6 separate regions of the Homo sapiens genome follow, and all the other regions are linked to region 1. Evidence: promoter capture Hi-C in 16 types of primary human blood cells and fetal thymus (Javierre and others, 2016). All regions are on one chromosome and are shown on one strand. The core of a region is centred on a gene start or on the middle of the fragment in contact, and the rest is flanking DNA. Distances in the headings are between cores, read along the strand shown. Region 1 holds the start of TADA3 (transcriptional adaptor 3). Region 2 overlaps FANCD2 (FA complementation group D2). Region 3 has its middle 14 kb from the start of FANCD2. Region 4 overlaps EMC3 (ER membrane protein complex subunit 3). Region 5 overlaps EMC3 (ER membrane protein complex subunit 3). Region 6 overlaps MTMR14 (myotubularin related protein 14).

Evidence for each region. The method cuts DNA at HindIII sites, captures the fragments that hold promoters and counts their contacts. A CHiCAGO score of 5 or more calls a contact.
Region 2: a fragment that was not itself captured here is called in contact with the fragment with the promoter of TADA3 in region 1 in 12 of 17 cell types (monocytes, naive B cells, erythroblasts and 9 more); the score reaches 9.9 in monocytes.
Region 3: a fragment that was not itself captured here is called in contact with the fragment with the promoter of TADA3 in region 1 in 1 of 17 cell types (monocytes); the score reaches 6.4 in monocytes.
Region 4: a fragment that was not itself captured here is called in contact with the fragment with the promoter of TADA3 in region 1 in 2 of 17 cell types (neutrophils and monocytes); the score reaches 6.1 in neutrophils.
Region 5: a fragment that was not itself captured here is called in contact with the fragment with the promoter of TADA3 in region 1 in 1 of 17 cell types (monocytes); the score reaches 5.7 in monocytes.
Region 6: a fragment that was not itself captured here is called in contact with the fragment with the promoter of TADA3 in region 1 in 1 of 17 cell types (neutrophils); the score reaches 9.0 in neutrophils.

What each region holds. Positions count from the first base shown.
Region 1 is chr3:9,791,088-9,793,998 of GRCh38, forward strand. TADA3 (transcriptional adaptor 3) reads right to left here and starts at 1,386. Exons shown (of 9, transcript NM_006354.5): 1 at 1,129-1,386; 2 at 173-406. The coding sequence starts at 379. It overlaps ARPC4-TTLL3 (ARPC4-TTLL3 readthrough), which reads left to right and starts at 1,461. Exons shown (of 12, transcript NM_001198793.1): 1 at 1,461-2,037. The coding sequence starts at 2,035. It overlaps ARPC4 (actin related protein 2/3 complex subunit 4), which reads left to right and starts at 1,995. Exons shown (of 6, transcript NM_005718.5): 1 at 1,995-2,037. The coding sequence starts at 2,035. RefSeq lists enhancers at 1-213, 1,318-1,844, 1,771-1,870, 1,845-2,371, 2,571-2,660 and silencers at 1,201-1,290, 1,351-1,640. The HindIII fragment of the contact is 10,858 bases long and covers 1-2,911 here.
Region 2 is chr3:10,031,159-10,034,069 of GRCh38, forward strand. FANCD2 (FA complementation group D2) reads left to right here. Exons shown (of 44, transcript NM_001018115.3): 3 at 1,674-1,814. Among named protein-coding and RNA genes, the nearest start is that of FANCD2, 6.2 kb to the left of the region's middle. The HindIII fragment of the contact is 752 bases long and covers 1,006-1,757 here.
Region 3 is chr3:10,011,080-10,013,990 of GRCh38, forward strand. It overlaps a transcript of EMC3 not described here and the pseudogene MARK2P2. Among named protein-coding and RNA genes, the nearest start is that of FANCD2, 14 kb to the right of the region's middle. RefSeq lists a silencer at 40-269 and an enhancer at 68-593. The HindIII fragment of the contact is 6,602 bases long and covers 1-2,911 here.
Region 4 is chr3:9,983,921-9,986,831 of GRCh38, forward strand. It overlaps EMC3 (ER membrane protein complex subunit 3), which reads right to left. Exons shown (of 8, transcript NM_001394674.1): 1 at 2,587-2,911. The coding sequence starts at 2,741. Among named protein-coding and RNA genes, the nearest start is that of EMC3, 1.5 kb to the right of the region's middle. RefSeq lists enhancers at 2,739-2,911, 2,851-2,911. The HindIII fragment of the contact is 8,045 bases long and covers 1-2,911 here.
Region 5 is chr3:9,963,217-9,966,127 of GRCh38, forward strand. It overlaps EMC3 (ER membrane protein complex subunit 3), which reads right to left. Exons shown (of 8, transcript NM_001394674.1): 8 at 1-981. The coding sequence ends at 853. Among named protein-coding and RNA genes, the nearest start is that of PRRT3, 12 kb to the left of the region's middle. The HindIII fragment of the contact is 938 bases long and covers 967-1,904 here.
Region 6 is chr3:9,660,682-9,663,592 of GRCh38, forward strand. It overlaps MTMR14 (myotubularin related protein 14), which reads left to right. Exons shown (of 19, transcript NM_001077525.3): 3 at 1,586-1,694. Among named protein-coding and RNA genes, the nearest start is that of MTMR14, 13 kb to the left of the region's middle. The HindIII fragment of the contact is 2,491 bases long and covers 180-2,670 here.

The sequences.
Region 1 (2,911 bases), core at 136-2,635:
ATCATGCATATTCTTGTGTATTTTTTGTGTCATGCAAACCCAGTTTGCGTCTCTCTCCCTCTCCCCACAAACCCCTGTACCCCAAGTCTCAGCATATGGGGCTAACTCAATGACCCATCCCATAACTTGTTGCAGTCCATCTCTGGTGCTGGCCCCTCTCTGGGGTTATCACCTGGGTTTCGGCCTCAAGCACACGCAGGCGCCGGCTGGCAGAAGACAGCAGGGTCTCCAGCTCCAGCTGCAGGGTGTCCAGCTCCTCGATGCCGATGCCATCATCCTCAGAGCGTGCCAGCACTGCCGTGTAGCGGGGACAGACCTTCAGGTGATCCACAGACTTGAAGTCGTGGAACTGCAAGGGGCAGTCTTTCAACTCACTCATGGCCCAGGATATGGGGATCCTGTGGAGCTGGAGAGGACAGGGCCATTGATGGGAGACAAAGTGGTCTGAGAAAAGCCCAAGGGCTTCTTACCTCCAGGGACAGCCTCAAGGAAGCCCAGCTTCAGTCCCTTACTGACAAAATTGATGGCACAGTTCCTACTCACAGGGCACTTAACTGGGTACCAAGCTAGGTGCAGAGCACTTTATCAGTTTATCTCACTGAATTTCTCACTCAGCACCATGAACAAGGACCATTGTGATCTCGTTTTTACAGAGAAAGAAACTGAGACTCTGTAAGGGTGGGTATGTGCCTATGCTTCCAAGATGCAATTTGAACCCCGCTAGTCTTGAGTCTGCACCCTGATCACCATGCTATACTGCTATGCCTTGCCTCGCCTTTCTGATGCTCTTTCCTTCCCTTCTATTTCTCTTGGGTTCTGCTAAGACTTTGAGTTCCAAGCACCCCATTCTTACCATGTTCTCTGGGACTCTTGGCCTCTTTTCTTACCCTATTCCACCTTTCTCCCTTCTCTAGTCACTAACAGTGGTTTAGAACGTGGGCTGGTAAGCCAGACAGACCTGGGTTCAAGCCCAGGCTTTACCATTCTCTACTTATATGCCCCTGAACATGTTATTTGACCTTTTTCAGTCTCAGTTTTTCCATCTGTAAAATGGGGACAAAAGAAGTCTCGGTCTGTTTCCCCATTAAAAGTCTGAATCTGAAAAATGGGGATAACAATAGTACCTACCTCCCTGGGATGTTCTGAGGATTAAGAGATGATGCCCGTCAAGAGCCCAGTTCAGTGTCTGGCACAGAAGTGGGACTGTTTAATGGCTGGCCCCGCCCGGGGGTCGCCCAAATGTCCCGCCTTCAGAGTCCTCGTTCTCTAGGGACACCCTAGTGCGACCCCCGCCCCCTCTACCTCCTCGCTGCGGCCTCCTACGGCCCCAGGGGCCGCGGGAGGGGGCGGGGAGTTCCGGTCGATGTGAGCAACCGCCCCGGAACTGGCTATGGGCGGGCCCCTTGCAGTTGACGCGGGGGCGGGGAGTCAGCGAGGGCGAGCCTACTGGAGTTTGCCGGGGGTGGGAAGAAGGTGGGCCTCGAGCAAAGCCGCTAGAGGTGGGGTGCGGGTGGTCGGCCTCAGGCGAGCCCCGGGGCACAGCCCGGGGCGGGAGGCGGAGCTTGGCGGCCGAGATCTCCGCGCTGCAGTTAGCCCCGCCGAGCGCCAGGAGCTGCGGGTAGGAGGGGCGAGAGAAAGGATGGGGGTACAGAACCGGAAGAAACGAAGGGCTCGTCCGCTTCGGCTTGTCCTAATTTGGTGCCCAATCTGAAGCTGGGCTGTACCATTGCATACCTGGGGGAGGCTGTGGCAAAGGTGACAAGAAGGCCGAAGGCACAAAGGGAAGCTGCACCCATTCCTGGAGGAGCTTAAATAGTGACTCGAGTGCAAGAATTTAAAAATACCGAGACAGCCCTAGGTGGAAAACTTCCGGAAGGCCCAAGCGTTCGTAAGGGCTCTCTACCCCGCTCGGAGCATAGATGGTACCGTCCGGAAGTCCGGGCGGAGACCGTAGCTGCGCTTCTCGCGAAAGGGCAGGCATCGCGGGGCTGGCCACTTCCGTACTTCCGCTTTCCGGCCCAGCCAGCGCCCGCGATGGTGAGAGAGCCGGGCCCCCGGCCAGGGACCCCCGGCTGTTCGGCCTCAGGGCAGTGGGTCGGTGGGAGATGTGGCTTTGCCGCAGGGGCGCGGGGCCGAGGGATGTCCGGGGGTTGTGGGGACACGATGAGGGTGGGAAAAAGAGACGGGGCGGGGGCCCGAGGTGAGGAAGGGGCGAGTGGGGGTACTCCCTGGTATGAAGTGGGCCTTGTGGCTTCACGGTCAGCCTTCGAAGCAGGTAGGGGCTTTTCCTGAGCCCTGTAGGAACCCGGAAGTGGGGTCTCCTAGGCTCTTTGGAGCATTTCGAGGGTACGTAGTCGGCCTCTTAGCCTCTGAGGCATGAAGCAAGTCCACCTGCCTATCCACAGTGGAACTTCACGACATACGCCCTTTGTCCTCTTCTGCCTTCCTGACCCTACAGTTGCTTAAGGCAGGCGGCCACACTTCCTTATCCCATTCTTGGTACCTCCAGCCCTGCTTCCACCCCATTGGAGGATCTCTCGTGTTGCTTCCATTCAGGCCCTTCCTGGTCAGAACTGAACTGTGTCAGCCTTAGTGTATGTTAGCTGTGATACTGCTCATCCCTCCCTTCCTGGAAGTCCTCCCTTTTTCATACATGTGGGCCTTTTTCATACATGTGGGCCTTTTTCATACGTGTGGGCATTCCTGGGAGTTGTGACTTTGGATGACCATCTCCCTCTTCGTCACACCTTCCCTGGTGATACCGATCTAGTCTCCTGGCTTCGATAACTTTCTTCATTCTGATGACTCCTAATCTGGCTTCTCAGCTCTCTTTCAAGGTTTGCCTGGATATCTTGAAGAGACCTTGAAATTAGACCTCTAGTTCAAAACTCATATTCTATTCTAAATTTGT
Region 2 (2,911 bases), core at 132-2,631, 240 kb after region 1:
ATTCAGGAAGGTAGTGGTCTTTGTCTCATTCTGATTAAGGCTTTATTAGAAAGAGGGAAAGGAGGCCAGGCACGGTGGCTCACGCCTGTAATCCCAGCACTTTGGGTGGCCAAGGCGGGCAGATCACGAGGTCAGGAGATTGAGACCATCTTGGCTAACATGGTGAAACCCCGTCTCTACTAAAAATACAAAAAATTAGCCGGGCGTGGTGGTGTGCACCTGTAGTCCCAGCTACTGGGAGGCTGAGGCAGGAGAATGGCATGAACCCGGGAGGCGGAGCTTGCAGTGAGCCAAGATCGCGCCACTGCACTCCAGCCTGGGCGACAGAGCAAGACTCCATTTCAAAAAAAAAAAAAAAAGAAAGAGGGAGAGGAATTGAAGAAGGAAAAAACAAAATGGCATCATTAAGGGAGAAGAGTAAATTTTAAACTTGGCTTCAAGTACCTGTTTGTTTCTTGTTTCTTATTTCTTTTTATGGGTTGAAAGTCTTGGGATTAAACCTATCTGAGCATTGTAGTCAAAGATATGATACAAAGAACCTTCCCCATTCTGTCTACCCTTTATTCAGATCATTGAGTCTCAAATTTGGTGTGTATCAGGATTATTATCTGAAGAACATAAAAAATTCGGATTCCTAGGTCCCATTCCCAAGATTTTGACTCAGTAACTCTGGTATATGGCATGGAATATGCCTTTTTTTTCCTTTGAGACAGAGTGTCACTCTGTTGCTCAGGCAGGAGTGAAGTGGCGCGATCTGGGCTCACTGCAACCTCTGCCTCCCGGGTTCAAGTGATTCTCCTCCTCAGCCTCCCGAGTAGTTGGTATTACAGGCGCACGCCACCACACCCAGTTAATTTTGTATTTTTAGTAGAGATGGGGTTTCACCACGTTAGCCAGGCTGGTCTTGAACTCCTGACCTCAGGTAATCAGCCTGCCTCGGCCTCCCAAAGTGCTGGGATTACAGGCGTGAGCCACTGTGCTGGGTCGGAAATATGCATTTTAATAAGCTTCCCAGGGATTCCAGTACAGTGGTTTGCAGGCAACAGCTTGAGAGACACTGGCTAGTTTAGTATTTGGGTGGAAAACATTTCTGTGGGTTATTCTTGTTAGGCACTTATTTGTTTGAATTTATTTTTTTAGAGATGGGGATTTCACTCTGTCACCCAGGCTGGAGTGCAGTGGTAATATCATAGCTCACTATAGCCTCAACCTCCTGGGCTCAAGTTATTCTTCCGCCTTAGCCTCCGAAGTAGCTGGGACTACAGGTGTGCGTCTCCTCACCTAACTAGTTTGTGTGTGGAGGGGGGGAATGGGGGTGAAGGGGGGGAGATGGGGGGGTGGTCTCACTTTGTTGCCCAGGCTGGTCTTGAACTCCTGGCTTCAAGTGATCCTCCTGCCTTGGCCTCCTAATTTGCTGGGATTACCACATGAGCCACCTTGCCTGGCCAGAAATGGCACATTTTGAATTCTTCAAATGAAAATAGGTGAAAATAATTCTATTTGTTTGTTTTGGAAGCCACTATTGCTGAAGACAGTTTATTTCACTACAGCATCAATCCTAGTATAATTTTTAAGGACACATCAGTTTTCCTCTCATGATTATTATTCCTGGGTTTAAGTTTTAATTTTTCCTTTACTATTTGCCATATTCTTGAAAATTTTTCTATTTTCAGAAACCAGGAAGCAACCACTTTCCAAAAAGACAAAGAAATCTCATATTGCTAATGAAGTTGAAGAAAATGACAGCATCTTTGTAAAGCTTCTTAAGATATCAGGAATTATTCTTAAAACGGGAGAGAGTCAGAATCAACTAGGTAATATTTTAATCTAATTTTATTCTCTGGGTTTAATGAAATAGTTCAGGACTGAATCATGGGTTTTCTAAATAGAGAGGCAATGAAGATTAGAAATCAGAGGGCCATCCATCTTGAGACAAAGTTGAAATTGCTTTTTAGAAAATGGTACAGTCAGGCCGGGCGCGGTGGCTCACGTTTATCATCCCAGCACTTTGGGAGGCTCGAGGCAGGCGGATTGCCTGAGCTCAGGAATTTGCGACCGGCCTGGGCAACACGTCTCTACTAAAATATAAAAAATTAGCCGGGCATGGTGGCATGTGCCTGTAGTCCCAGCTGCTTGGGCGCCTGAGTCAGGAGAATTGCTTGAACCCGGGAGGTGAAAGTTGCAGTGAGTCAAGATCGCACCACTGCACTCCAGCCTGGGCGACAAGAGTGAGACTCCATTTCCAAAAAACAAAAATGGAAAAAGAAAATGGTACAGTCTTTGGTCCTCATTACTATGTCTTAAGTAAAGCATTTCTCATCCTTTTATTAGAAAAAATATTATATATTATTTATTTTGTGTTTTCTTATGAAAAAATAAATATCCAGAAAGCAGCTGTATCAGTGTCAGAATAATTTCAGAAGAAAATTTATAAAGCCATATAAGATTCTGTTTTGGGGGAGCAGATTATTCTATCTTGCTAAGGTTATGGCAGGTCTTTTTTAGAACACTTAGTGGCTATCTGCTATCAAAGCTAAGTCTTTTTTTTTTTTTTTTTTTTGAGACGGAGTCTTGCTCTGTCGCCCAGGCTGGAGTGCAGTGGCGCGATCTCTGCTCACTGCAAGCTCCACCTCCCAGGTTCACACCATTCTGCCTCAGCTTCCCAAGTAGCTGGGACTACAGGCGCCCGCCACCATGCCTGACTAATTTTTTGTATTTTTAGTAGAGACGGAGTTTCACCGTGTTAGCCAGGATGGTCTTGATCTCCTGACCTTGTGATCCACCTGCCTCGGCCTCCCAAAGTGCTGGGATTACAGGCATGAGCCACCGCGCCCAGCCAAAGCTAAGTCTTTTATGTGGGTTTAGACACAACCCCATGACTCTGGGCTGGGCACAGTGGCTTATGCCTGTA
Region 3 (2,911 bases), core at 1-2,500, 220 kb after region 1:
GAGAGTGCCCGCCTGTGTTGGGGCAGCAGCGCCTGGAAGGAGGCGGCCCCGGCCGCCCGCAGAGCTCCGCCTCCCAGGCCGCGCTCTGTGTCTTTGTCCAGGCTGGGAGGGGCCGATGGCCGTTAAAAGCCCCGCCCGCCGCCGCTCGCCGCCGCCTGGCCCCACCCCCGTATCCATGGAGACCCGACGCCGCCGGACTGCCTGTCAGCTGCAGCTCGGTAGCCTGGGGCCCGCCCCGTTCGCCCGGTCTGTCTTCCGCGGGCCATGCTACCCAAGCTGACTCCGACTGGAGTCACTGGGATACCTGTCCACGCCTCCTCTCCTGGGCCACTTCCCTGCGGGGCGGGCAGTAGGGCAGGGCGGGGTGGGAATCTGTTGTACTCAGGGAAGGGAATTGCCCCCAGGCCCAGAGAGTTTGGAGCCTGGGGTACTGCCACCAACAGCCCAGAACTCTCCCAGCTGGGCACCACCCCCCCACACCCGCCGCCAGAGTCTTCCTGCAGCAAGGCTCTCTTCAGGAGGGGCTGTGAATGTTTCCCCGGGGTGGGGCTAAGCCAGAGCCCAGAGGTTAGCCCCTGGGGCACGGATCCCCCAGGTCACTCACTTCCCACGGGCTGCAGTGAAGGAGGCTCTGAGGGGAGGATGGCCGGTTTTTCCCCTGCAAGGGAAGGCATTCCTGCTCTGGGGACTGCCTCCCTCTCCCTCTTCTGCCAGCCACCGCAGAAACTTGGCCAAGCTGACCACTCTGTCAGTGATCTCTGCCAGGGAGGCTGAAAAACATCCAGCCCCACCCGTGGTCCCTTCCTGCCTCAGGCTATGTGACAGTATGACTGCCCACCTATTTCTTCGTTTCCACTGGAAACACTAGTAAAACAATTCCTCAGCCTCGACCCCAGGGAGTGGCCCCCACTAAACCAGCTGACGTGGGACCCCTGGGTCAATGCTGGCCAGAAGACACTGCTGACACCATACAGAGACCCTGGACACCTATGCCCCCTACAACCCTGGTAATGGTGGCCATGGGATTCCAAGCAGCACACATCTCGGAATCAATATTCTCCCCAACAAAAAATACATATGTGATTATCCCATGGCCACGTACCTAATCCTGGGGTAGAGAAAAGTACAGAGGAGGAAGCGCTCCATCATTGGAGCACAGCCCTTCCTCCTGGGGGTCCCACCTGTTCTTCCCCATCTGACAAAGTCTGCCTTCCTTGTGGAACCAAAGAGGGCTCAAAGGGAGCCAGCTGTTCCCACTTTTAATTTTTGACTGCCCAAGGACGGCGAGAAGTGAAGGCAGAAGACCACCATTCCTGCTCAGAACTCTTCCTGGGCTGGGGGTACCAGTGCCCTGCCATGGACATATGGGGCCTTGGCGTCATACTCTACCATATGGTGGCCGGGGCCCTACCCTTCTATTCAGGGAACACGATGGACCTCAAGAATCAAATTTTCACAGGAAGCTACCACGCCTCACCATTTTTTTTCCCTTCAACTTGAAAGATTCATTCAAAAGTTACTAACACTAGAACCCAGGGAGTGGCCCCCACTGAAAGAAGTTTTGAGGGACTGGTGGGTGAACTGTGGTTAGGAGATGCCACGGACAACATACAAAGAGCCATGAGCCAACATACCACCCAGCTCATGGTGGCCATGGGATTCCAGGCCAAGAACATCTCTGTGCCAATCAAAGAAAAAGCGTTTCACTATCCTATGGCCACCTACCTCATTTTAGAACAAACAAAAGAAGCAGTCCACCATCAGACCATGGTCCCTTCCTCCTGGGGTTCCCACCTGTCCTTCTCTATCCACTGAAGTTTCCACCTTCTCTCTCCCACTGAAGCAGGCTCACAGCGAGCCAGCTTGTCCCATATTCAGCATTCAGCAGAAGACCACTGTTCCTGCCAGTGCCCCTGCCAGCCTGCAGAGGAAGCCGGACAGTTTTGGCAAAGCCCCCCAGCGTGACGCTGTGGCCTCTACCTCCACCCACACCACCAGCAGCAGTGGCAGAGACCCAGAAACGTCCCTTGCCCAGCGACAATCATCACAGGAAGCCAGTGTTGTCCAAGCTGGACAGCCTGAGGCTGTGACATCAGCCTAGCCAACAAGAAACTGGGGCTGCCGCAGCCGGACGCAGTGGCTCATGCCTGTAATCCCAGCACTTTGGGAGGCCAAGGCGGGAGGATCACGAGGTCAGGAAATCGAGACCATCCTGGCTAACATGGTGAAACTCCATCTCTACTAAAAATACAAAAAATTAGCCAGGCTTGGTGGCGGGCACCTATAGTCCCAGCTACTCAGAAGGCTGAGGCAGGAGAGTGGCGTGAACCTGGGAGGTGGAGTTTGCAGTGAGCCGAGATTGTGCCACTGCACTCCAGCCTGGGGGACAGAGTGAGACTCCGTCTCAAAAAAAAAAAAAAAAAAAAAGAAAAGAAAAGAAACTGGGGCTGCCACAGGGCTGCCGGAGGACGCATCTTTCACTTCTATTAAGATTTTGCTGCATGTGTCCACCGAAGAAAAGGAGGAATAAGATTGCTCCAACATAGTTGCACAGATGAAGACAAAAATCAGCTAGGTGGGGTGGTGAAGCCTCACTTCTTGCATTTTACTATTTACTATTTATTCTGTCTCTTTTTTTTTTTTTTTTTGAGGCAGAGTCTCGCTCTGTCGCCCAGGCTGGAGTGCAGTGGCACAATCTTGGCTCACTGCAAGCTCCGCCTCCCGAGTTCACACCATTCTCCTGCCTCAGCCTCCCGAGTAGCTGGGACTACAGGCGCCCACCACCACGCCAGGCTAATTTTTGTATTTTTAGTAGAGATGGGGTTTCACCATGTTAGCCAGGATGGTCTCGATCTCCTGACCTCGTGATCTGCCCACCTCGGCCTCCCAAAGTGCTGGGATTACAGGCGTG
Region 4 (2,911 bases), core at 412-2,911, 190 kb after region 1:
TCCAGGCTCCCTGGAATTGTAAAAATGGGTTAAGGAGTATCTGCTTCAGTGCTAATGTAAGGCTAAAATAAGAAATTTTACAGGTGCCAGAAAATGCTAAATGTCTGAGCTTTCCCCACTTCGCACTTTTCTACAGCCCTTCTTTCTGTGGTAAATACACTTTTTTTTTTTTTTTTAAATGAGATGGAGTCTCGCTCTGTCGCCAGGCTGGAGTGCAGTGGCATGATCTCGGCTCACCGCAACCTCTGCCTCCCGGATTCAAGCGATTCTCCTGCCTCAGCCTCCCGAGTAGCTGGGACTACAGGCACGTGCCATCACGCCCAGCTAATTTTTGTATTTTTAGTAGAGATGGGGTTTCACCATGTTGGCCAGGATGGTCTCAATCTCTTGACCTCATGATCTGCCTGCCTCGGCCTCTCAAAGTGTTGGGATTACAGGCGTAAGCCACCACACCCGGCCAGTAAGTTGACTTCTTTTCTGTTTTTTTGAGACAGAGTCTTGCTCTGTCACCCAGGTTGAAGTGCAGTGGCGCGATCTTGGCTCACTGCAAGCTCCGCCTCCTGGGTTCAAGCAATTCCACTGCCTCAGCCTCCCGAGTAGCTGGGACTACAGGCGCCCAGCATACCACGCTCAGCTAATTTTTTGTATTTTTAGTAGAGACGGGGTTTCACCATGTTAGCCAGGATGGTCTCGATCTCCTGACCTCGTGATCCGTCCGCCTCGGCCTCCCAAAGTGCTGGGAGTACAGGCATGAGCCACCATGCCCGGCCAGTAAGCTGACTTCTTAAGGTTCGCTCCAGGGTGGGGTGCTGGCTCTGGTCAGTTCTGAAACTAATGCTACAGAAAGATAAAGTGATCGCTGTAGTATAGTGGAAAAAGCCCAATACCCAGAAGGCTTGGTGTGAAGTCCTAAATGTCACCCTGTGTGACGCTGTAACGCACCTGGCACTCTTCTCAACGAACGGGTGGGATGGAACTTGTTAAAGCCTCTGTTTCTATAAAATGAGACAATATGTACCTCATAGAGTTGCTTTGAAGTTTTAAATAAGTTAATGAATGTAAGTACTTCACATAGTACCTGATATAGAGTAAATGGTTATTATTCTTCTTGGCATAATTGGGAAGAACTAACTGAAAATGTTACAGTAGTGCTTCCTAAACTTCAGTCACTCTCATGCCATGTTAGAATTTTTGTCCAACGCTTGTATCATTACATATTTAATACTTTTTATATATCAACTTTTTTCCCATCTATATGATTTTAAAGGAATCTTTAAATTACCAGCAAATGGAAATCCAGTATTGTCACAAAAAAGAAAGTAACTTAAGTACAGTAGAAACAAAACAACATTATTAAATTTTAACTAGACACTGTTACCTGTGAAAAGTTCTTAGCCTGAGGCTTACTCTCTTTATTAAAACGAGAAATTAATGTGAGAGAGAGGTGCTAAAGATATAGTAGCACTTACCTGAGATGATTTCTGAAAGTAATCAGAACTGACTGAAAATTGCTTGTTTTTCTAAGAGACAAGGTCTCGTTATGTTGCCCAGGCTGGTCTCCCACAATCCTCCTGCCTCAGCATCCCAAGTTGCTGGGAGAAAACTATTACTTTAATATGAGGGGCTACATGTCTAGATAACCACCTATAATCATCTCAAATTCCTTTATCTGTATATAAATATTGCAACGAGGGGCTGGTTGCCATGGCTCACACCTGTAATCCCAGCACTTTGGGAGGCCAAGGCAGGTGGATCACCTGAGGTCGAGTTCGAGAACAGCCTGGCCAAGATGGTGAAACCCTGTCTCTACTAAAAATACAAAAATTAGTCAGGTGTGGTGGTGCGGGCCTGTAATCCCAGCTACTCGGGGGGCTGAGGCAAGAGAATCGCTTGAACCCGGGAGGCGTAGACTGCAGTGAGCTGAGATGACGCCACCGCACTCCAGCCTGGGCAACGAGAGCGAAACTCCGTCTCAAAAATAAGCAAATAAATAGATAAATAAATAAATACTGCAATGAAATATGTGAGGAAGTTGCCTCCACTCTAGTGGGGGGAAATAATTACAATTCCTTACATCTCTAATGGCAGTTTTACAGACTGCAAAGCGCTTTGGTACTTGGCATCTCAGCTGACAGTCCCACCAGGCCCGACGCCTGGAACAGTAATTTGGTAGAATGCAGATTATCACACTCACTTGACTGGATGTTACAAAGACTAAACGCTGTAACGCACCTGGCACTCTTCTCAACGGAAGGGTGGGATGGAATAGTTCATAGGTAAACCCACCGAGGGTCGGCGACTAACCTAAAGGATTAACAGTACTGTTTTTTTCAACACTCAATACGTCCTAGATCCTGTGCTAAGGGACTTACAGACATCACCTAATTTGATTCCTACCTGTCTATGAAGCAGGTACTGTTATCATCCCCATTTCACAGAGGACAAAAGTGAAACACAGAGGTAACGGGTAAGGTCACCCTGTCAGAGGGGGCGCGACGTGAACCTAGGCAAATTGACACAACTCCTGCACTTTTTTGCCCAAGGTCACGGCGGTGTGAGGTAGGCTGGAGAAGGGAGGGCGCTGACCTGTCAGATACTTGTTCCTGGGTGAGCTTCTTGTCGCTCTGCAGCAGGATGGACACGTAGTGGCGGATCATGCCTACGAAGAAAGTGATGATAACGATGGGTAGGACCACCCAGAGGCGGATGTTGGAGTCGAGCAACAGTTCTGGCCCTGCCATCTTCACTGAAAGCTGGTTCCCAGTCTGGAATGGGCGAGCTTCTCTTCTCCGGGGCACAGTTGCTTCTCTTCGGCTTCGCCTCCGGGCCTTCTCAAGCCCCTTTGCCCGTGTACCCCAGAACTCTCCTGCGACTGTGAGCCGAGCTTACTGCCTTCAGCTGGGCTGCCTGG
Region 5 (2,911 bases), core at 186-2,685, 170 kb after region 1:
CTCAAAATGAACAGGGAGATTCATTTTGTTCATCCATAGTTTCTAAACCTTTGGTAGTGGAAATGGTTTACTTGTGTAAAGAAAGTTAACAATACTAACAAAACTAATGGTAAAACACAGGGTGTTTGGATCCCAAGAAAACAGGAGTTTACTGTGGCTAGATGTCAGGCTGACTGCACATAATCATTAGCTATAATTAACAATGCTTCCTTCGAAGACTGGGCTTCTGCTAAGATAGATATATATATATATATATATATATTTTTTTTTTTTTTTCAGATGGAGTTTTGCTCTGTCGCCCAGGCTGGAGCGCAGTGGCACGATGTCAGCTCACTGCATCCTCCGCCTCCTAGGTTTAAGCAGTTCTCTGCCTCAGCCTCCCAAGTAGCTGGGATTACAGGTGCCCACCACCACGCCCGGCTAATTTTTTTTTGTATTTTTAGTAGAGATGGGGTTTCACCATCTTGGCCAGGCTGATCTTGAACTCCTGATCTCGTGACCCACCCGCCTCAGCCTCCCAAAATCCTGGGATTACAGGCGTGAGCCACTGCGCCTGGCCAAGATTTTATATATTATCAGTAGCCTGAGGTTTCCCCCTTTCTCTGACTTTCATTACTAGAGTCACCAGAAGGAACATTTACAACATTTTAAAAATAACAAGTTGCCCAGCATACTCCTATTTCCTCTAGTTTCAAACATAAAGGGGAACCCAGCCCAGACAAGAACAAGCCTTGCTGCATGCCTGCCAGCTCGTGCATCCTCCTTTTTATTTCAAGAGGTGCCAGCTCCAAACAAAGTTACAAGGTTAAGTGCAACTCCAAGTTCCTGACACAGCTAATCCCTGCTCGGTCTTCAAAAAATAGAGGTCTGTAATTCCTTTTTGAACATGCCTTCGAAGTGGAGGTCTTTGGCCATGAGCTCTTCTTCGACATCATCTAGTGCCCACTGGTGATCCGTCAGCTCCAAAGCTTCCCACTCTGTCTGTAATGGAAGAGAACACCCAGGCAGGAAGAGAGGGAATTGTTACTGACAGCTGTGGCTAACCTTTAGTGACCACTTACTCTGGGCCAAAAGCTGGAGTGAGCTATCTGCATGTATAAGCTCATTCAATCCTACAAGGGAAATGCTGCTACCCCAATCCTCTCCTCCCCCTCTTCCTGCCACCCCTCAATTTATAGATAAGGAGACTAAGACTAAGAGGTCAAATAATTTGTTCAAGGCCACTGGCACTAGGAACTAATGGAGCTGAGATTTAAATTGTGGTCTGACTGCAAAGTCCCCAGCGCTTAACCCGTCTATCAGCTCACACTCACTAAGCACCTTTGTGCCCCACAGTACTCTTGAGAGATGTACAACAGACAAATTAGTGCAGATTCTCAGCTCTTTAATCAAGGGACTTGCCATCTGGTTTAAATGGTGCATGGTCCACAATGCTTTGACATAAATGGCCCAGGGTATCTTCAGTGGGCCTAAGAACACTTCCTCCAACCTTATGTCCAGACACACAATGGCACTTCATTACAGTTTGTGGGAGTCCAGTAATTTTTAATCACTGGAATAAAGACTTTGATGATGTGAACTAAAAAACTGTTTTTGGCATATAATCATTTAGATGTAAACTAGTAATATGTTGAGCAGAAATAAATTTGCAGAATTTTCCAAGAAATTACATTTCTCAAATATTCTATTAATCTGACTACTTTGCCTTAAATTAGTGAGTGTCTAAAAAATGCTTTATGAGTTGGGTGCAGTGGCATGCATCTACAGTCCCAGCTACTCTGGAGGCTGAGGCTAAGGATAGCTTGAGCCCAGGAGTTTGGGACTGCCCTGGACAACCTATCTTTAGATGAGCCTAGAGATAGTAATACCTCGTCTTTAAAAATAAATTAAAAAAAAAAAAAAAAAGCTTGCGAGATGTGGTAGCTCACACCTGTAATCCTAGCACTTTGGGAGGCCAAGGCAGGAGGATCACTTGAGGATGGGAGTTCAAGACCAGCCTGGGCAACACAGCGAGATCCCATCTCTATACAAATTTAAAAAAAAATTAGTTGGGTGTGGTGGTGTGTGCCTGTAGTACTGGCTTCTCGTGTACCAGTACTGAGGCTGAGGTGGGAGGAATGCTTAAGTCCAGGAGTTCGAGGCTGCAGTGAGCAAGGATTGTACCACTGCACTCCAGCCTGGGTGACACAGTGAGACCCTCGATAGATAGATAGATAGATAGATAGATAGATAGATAGATAGATAGAACAAGCTTATTTAATGTGAAATACAAATGTTAGCTCATGAGTGAGTTTTTCAGATATAATTTACATGTCATACAATTTACCCCTTTAATGTGTATAATTTAGTGATTTTTAGTATATTCATATGTGCAACCACCACCACTATCTAATTGCAGAACACTTTTATCATAACAAAAAGAAACCACATACCAAACAGTAGACAGCTCCCATTATTCACCTCCCACAACCTCTGGCAACTACTACGTTATCTTCCGTATCTTTTTTTCACTTATTCTGGGCATATGTGGCCTTTTGTTATTTTCTTTCACTTAGCATGTTTTCAAGGTTCTTCCCTGTTTAACATGATTCAGTATTCCACTCTTATTTATAGCTGAATAACACTCCATTGTATATATTCTACTGTACATACAATGTACATTATATTCCAAAATATTCCATTGTTTATTCATTCATTAGATGATGGACATTTGGGTTATGTCTACTTTTTGATTATTATGAATCATGCTCTGAACACATTCTCACATAAGTTTCTGTGTGGACATACATTTTCAGTTCTCTTGAGTATTTACTTAAGAGTGAAATTACTGGATCATATAGTAACTATGTTTTAACTGTTTGAGGAAAGGCAGAAAAACTGTTTTCCAAAGTGGCTGTACCATCATCAACAA
Region 6 (2,911 bases), core at 175-2,674, 130 kb before region 1:
TTCTGGGATAATATTTGGGTGCATGTGTACAAGAGGAGCTGTACGCAGATTCCTAGAAGGATTAGGATGTGGAAGCAATTAAATTCCCTCTAGGAGTTGGTCTGAAAGCTCAACACTTTTAAGGAAGGAACATGAGTATTTTTCCTTCCTTCTACTTGGTTACTCTGTGTAGCTGGGAAAGCTTCCTGCTCTAACTTTCCTGCCTCCTGTTTCTGTTGCTACCAGAAGCTCTGACTGGCTGGGGTGAGCTTTGCTAAAGGTTGGTAGGTGAGTTTATGAGAGCGGACCCTTATTTTAGGGAAGCGTGATTTGATATGGGTATGACTTGCTGGAGCTAACTTCTAAACCTCACTCTCAAGTTCTAGAAGCTCACTTACCAAGCCCAGTGCATTAACTACTACACGTCCCTGTGTCACACATGGCTTCTCTTATGCCTCCTTTGCTCTGTGCGCTGTTGGCCATATGGACTGTGAAAGCAGAGGCCTAGAGCCATGTGGACCAAGAAACGTCATCTCATTCTGCCCTCTAAAACAGCACTCCCCAACCTTTTTGGCACCAGGGACTGGTTTCATGGAAAACAATTTTTCCACGGCAGGGTGGAGAAAATGGTTTCAGATGAAACTGTTCCACCTCAGATCATGAGGCATTAGATTCTCTGCAACCCCAGTCCCTCACATGCGGAGTTCACAATAGGGTTCGAGCTCCTATGAGAATATAATGCCGCCACTGATGATCTGACAGGAGGTGGAAGTCAGACGGTAATGCTCACTTGCCTGCTGCTCACCTCCTGGTTCCTAATGGGGCATGGACTCGTACTGATCTGGGGCTCAGGGCCTGGGGACTGCTTGCTCTAAAAGATCACAAAAATACATATTCAGAGTTATGCAAAAAATAGATAGTCACAAAAATGGTCCTGTGATTTCCAGAGAGGGTCCCTAGGGCACCAGGTCTTATCCTGGGAGTTAAAAATTGGACACCCTAGACATAATATCCAGTTTTCTGTGTATATTTCTGAATTTTGTATATGTCTTCAGTTTAGCTCACTTTTTTTTTATCTTAAAGGTTCAGAAATCAGAGTGATTTAAGTTTTAATACCTATAATTAGCACTTTTTTTTTTTCCTGAAAAACTTAATATATCTCATGCCTGTGATCCCGGCACTTTGGGAGGCCGAGGTGGGCGGATCGCCTGAGGTCAGGAGTTTGAGGCCAGCCTGGCCAACGTGGTGAAACCCCGTCTCTACCAAAAATAAAAAAATTACCCAGGTGTGGTGGCTCACACCTGTAGTCACAGCATACTCGGGAGGCTGAGACAGGAGAATTGCTTGAACCCGGGAGGCAGAGGCTGTGGTGAGCCAAGATTGCGCCACTGCACTCTAGCCTGGGCAACAACAGTGAAACTCCGTCTCAAAAAAATAGATAGATAGACAGACAGATGATAGATGATATAAAATTTAGGAATGACATTTAATTTCAAGCAAGCATTATGTACACAGATCTAGTATGGGGGTCTGTGTGAATAAACACATATACACAAAGTGCCCACTTCAAAGTCAGCTTGACCTGCTTCTCTTGCCTGTGTGTTAGGTTTGAGAGTACCGTACAGGTGAGCAAGTTGCAAGACCTCATCCACCGCAGCAAGATGGCCCGGTGCAGAGGACGGTTTGTCTGCCCAGTAATCCTGTTCAAGGGCAAGGTAAGGCCCATACCATAGCTTCATGCTCCACGACTCTCTTCTGGGGTAGCTGACTTACTGCAAAGTATAGGGTCTTTTTTTCCCTCAACATTAGTAGCCAAGCATTGGGTGGTTACTGGGTGTTGTGGGAAGCAGTCCAGAGAAACAGACCAATTCTGACTGAAGGATGGTTCTAGGTAGAGAAGGGATGGTCACACCAGCATACCCCACCCCGTGTTCCAGAGCCAGACTGCCTAGGTTCAGATCCTGACTCTTATTTCCTGCCTATGCAGAGCCTCCTTTTCCTCTCCTATAAATTAAGAATAATAATCACCTATTTCAAAGGTTTGTGGATTAGATTAAATCAAATGAGTTCCTATATTGTTTTTCCATTCTTTCAATTATATAATTCACCAAGTATTTATTGTATATTATGTGCCAGACACTGCTTCAGGCCTTAAAATACATCACCATGTAAAGCAGACAAAAATCTTTATTGTCATGGAGCTTATATTCTAAGGACTTTTGTTAATTTAATTTGGCTCCCCAGTTTGGTTTCATTTTTATCTATCTTTTGGTGTACGGGATGTGCCCATTTCATTGCAGATGAAACAGAGGCTGAGAGTGACTAAGTAACTTCCCTAAGTAGAGGGTACACATCAGGGCAGAGGATGGAGGGGATTGAATGAAGACGGCTGAACGCTGAGCAGGGAGGTGGCTCTGTGTTTGCTAGGAGAGCCATTGTGACGTTTGAGCGGGGAAATTCCGAATGCAAGTAGCAACGGTGCGAAAATTGGTCCAAGAAGAGTGGACTGACATACAGAGAGCCTCAGAGGGGAAGGGAGCGGAATTCAGTCTATTCATTCCTTTAGCTGGTATCTGAGTGTCTCAGTGGTCAAGGGCAGGGCAATGGGGAGAGTCTGACTGTTGTCTCAGTCCCTGGTGTGCCTTTTTTGTAAATTGGGAAAGAGGAGGAAGGAAGGGAGACTCTGCCAAAAGCTTTCTTCTTCAGATCAGTTTTAGGGAAAAGTATGTATGGAAGTTAGGTCCTAGAAATTGATCTTCTTAAAGCTGTTGCCACTTTGGAAAGTTTTCATGTTCCCGAAAGTTATTGCAACTTTTTTTTTTTTGAGATGGAGTCTCTCTCTTTTTTTTTTTTTTTTTTTTTTTTTTGAGGCAGCAGACATCTTGCTCTGCTGCCCAGGCTGGAGTGCAGTGGTGCGATCTCAGCTCACTGC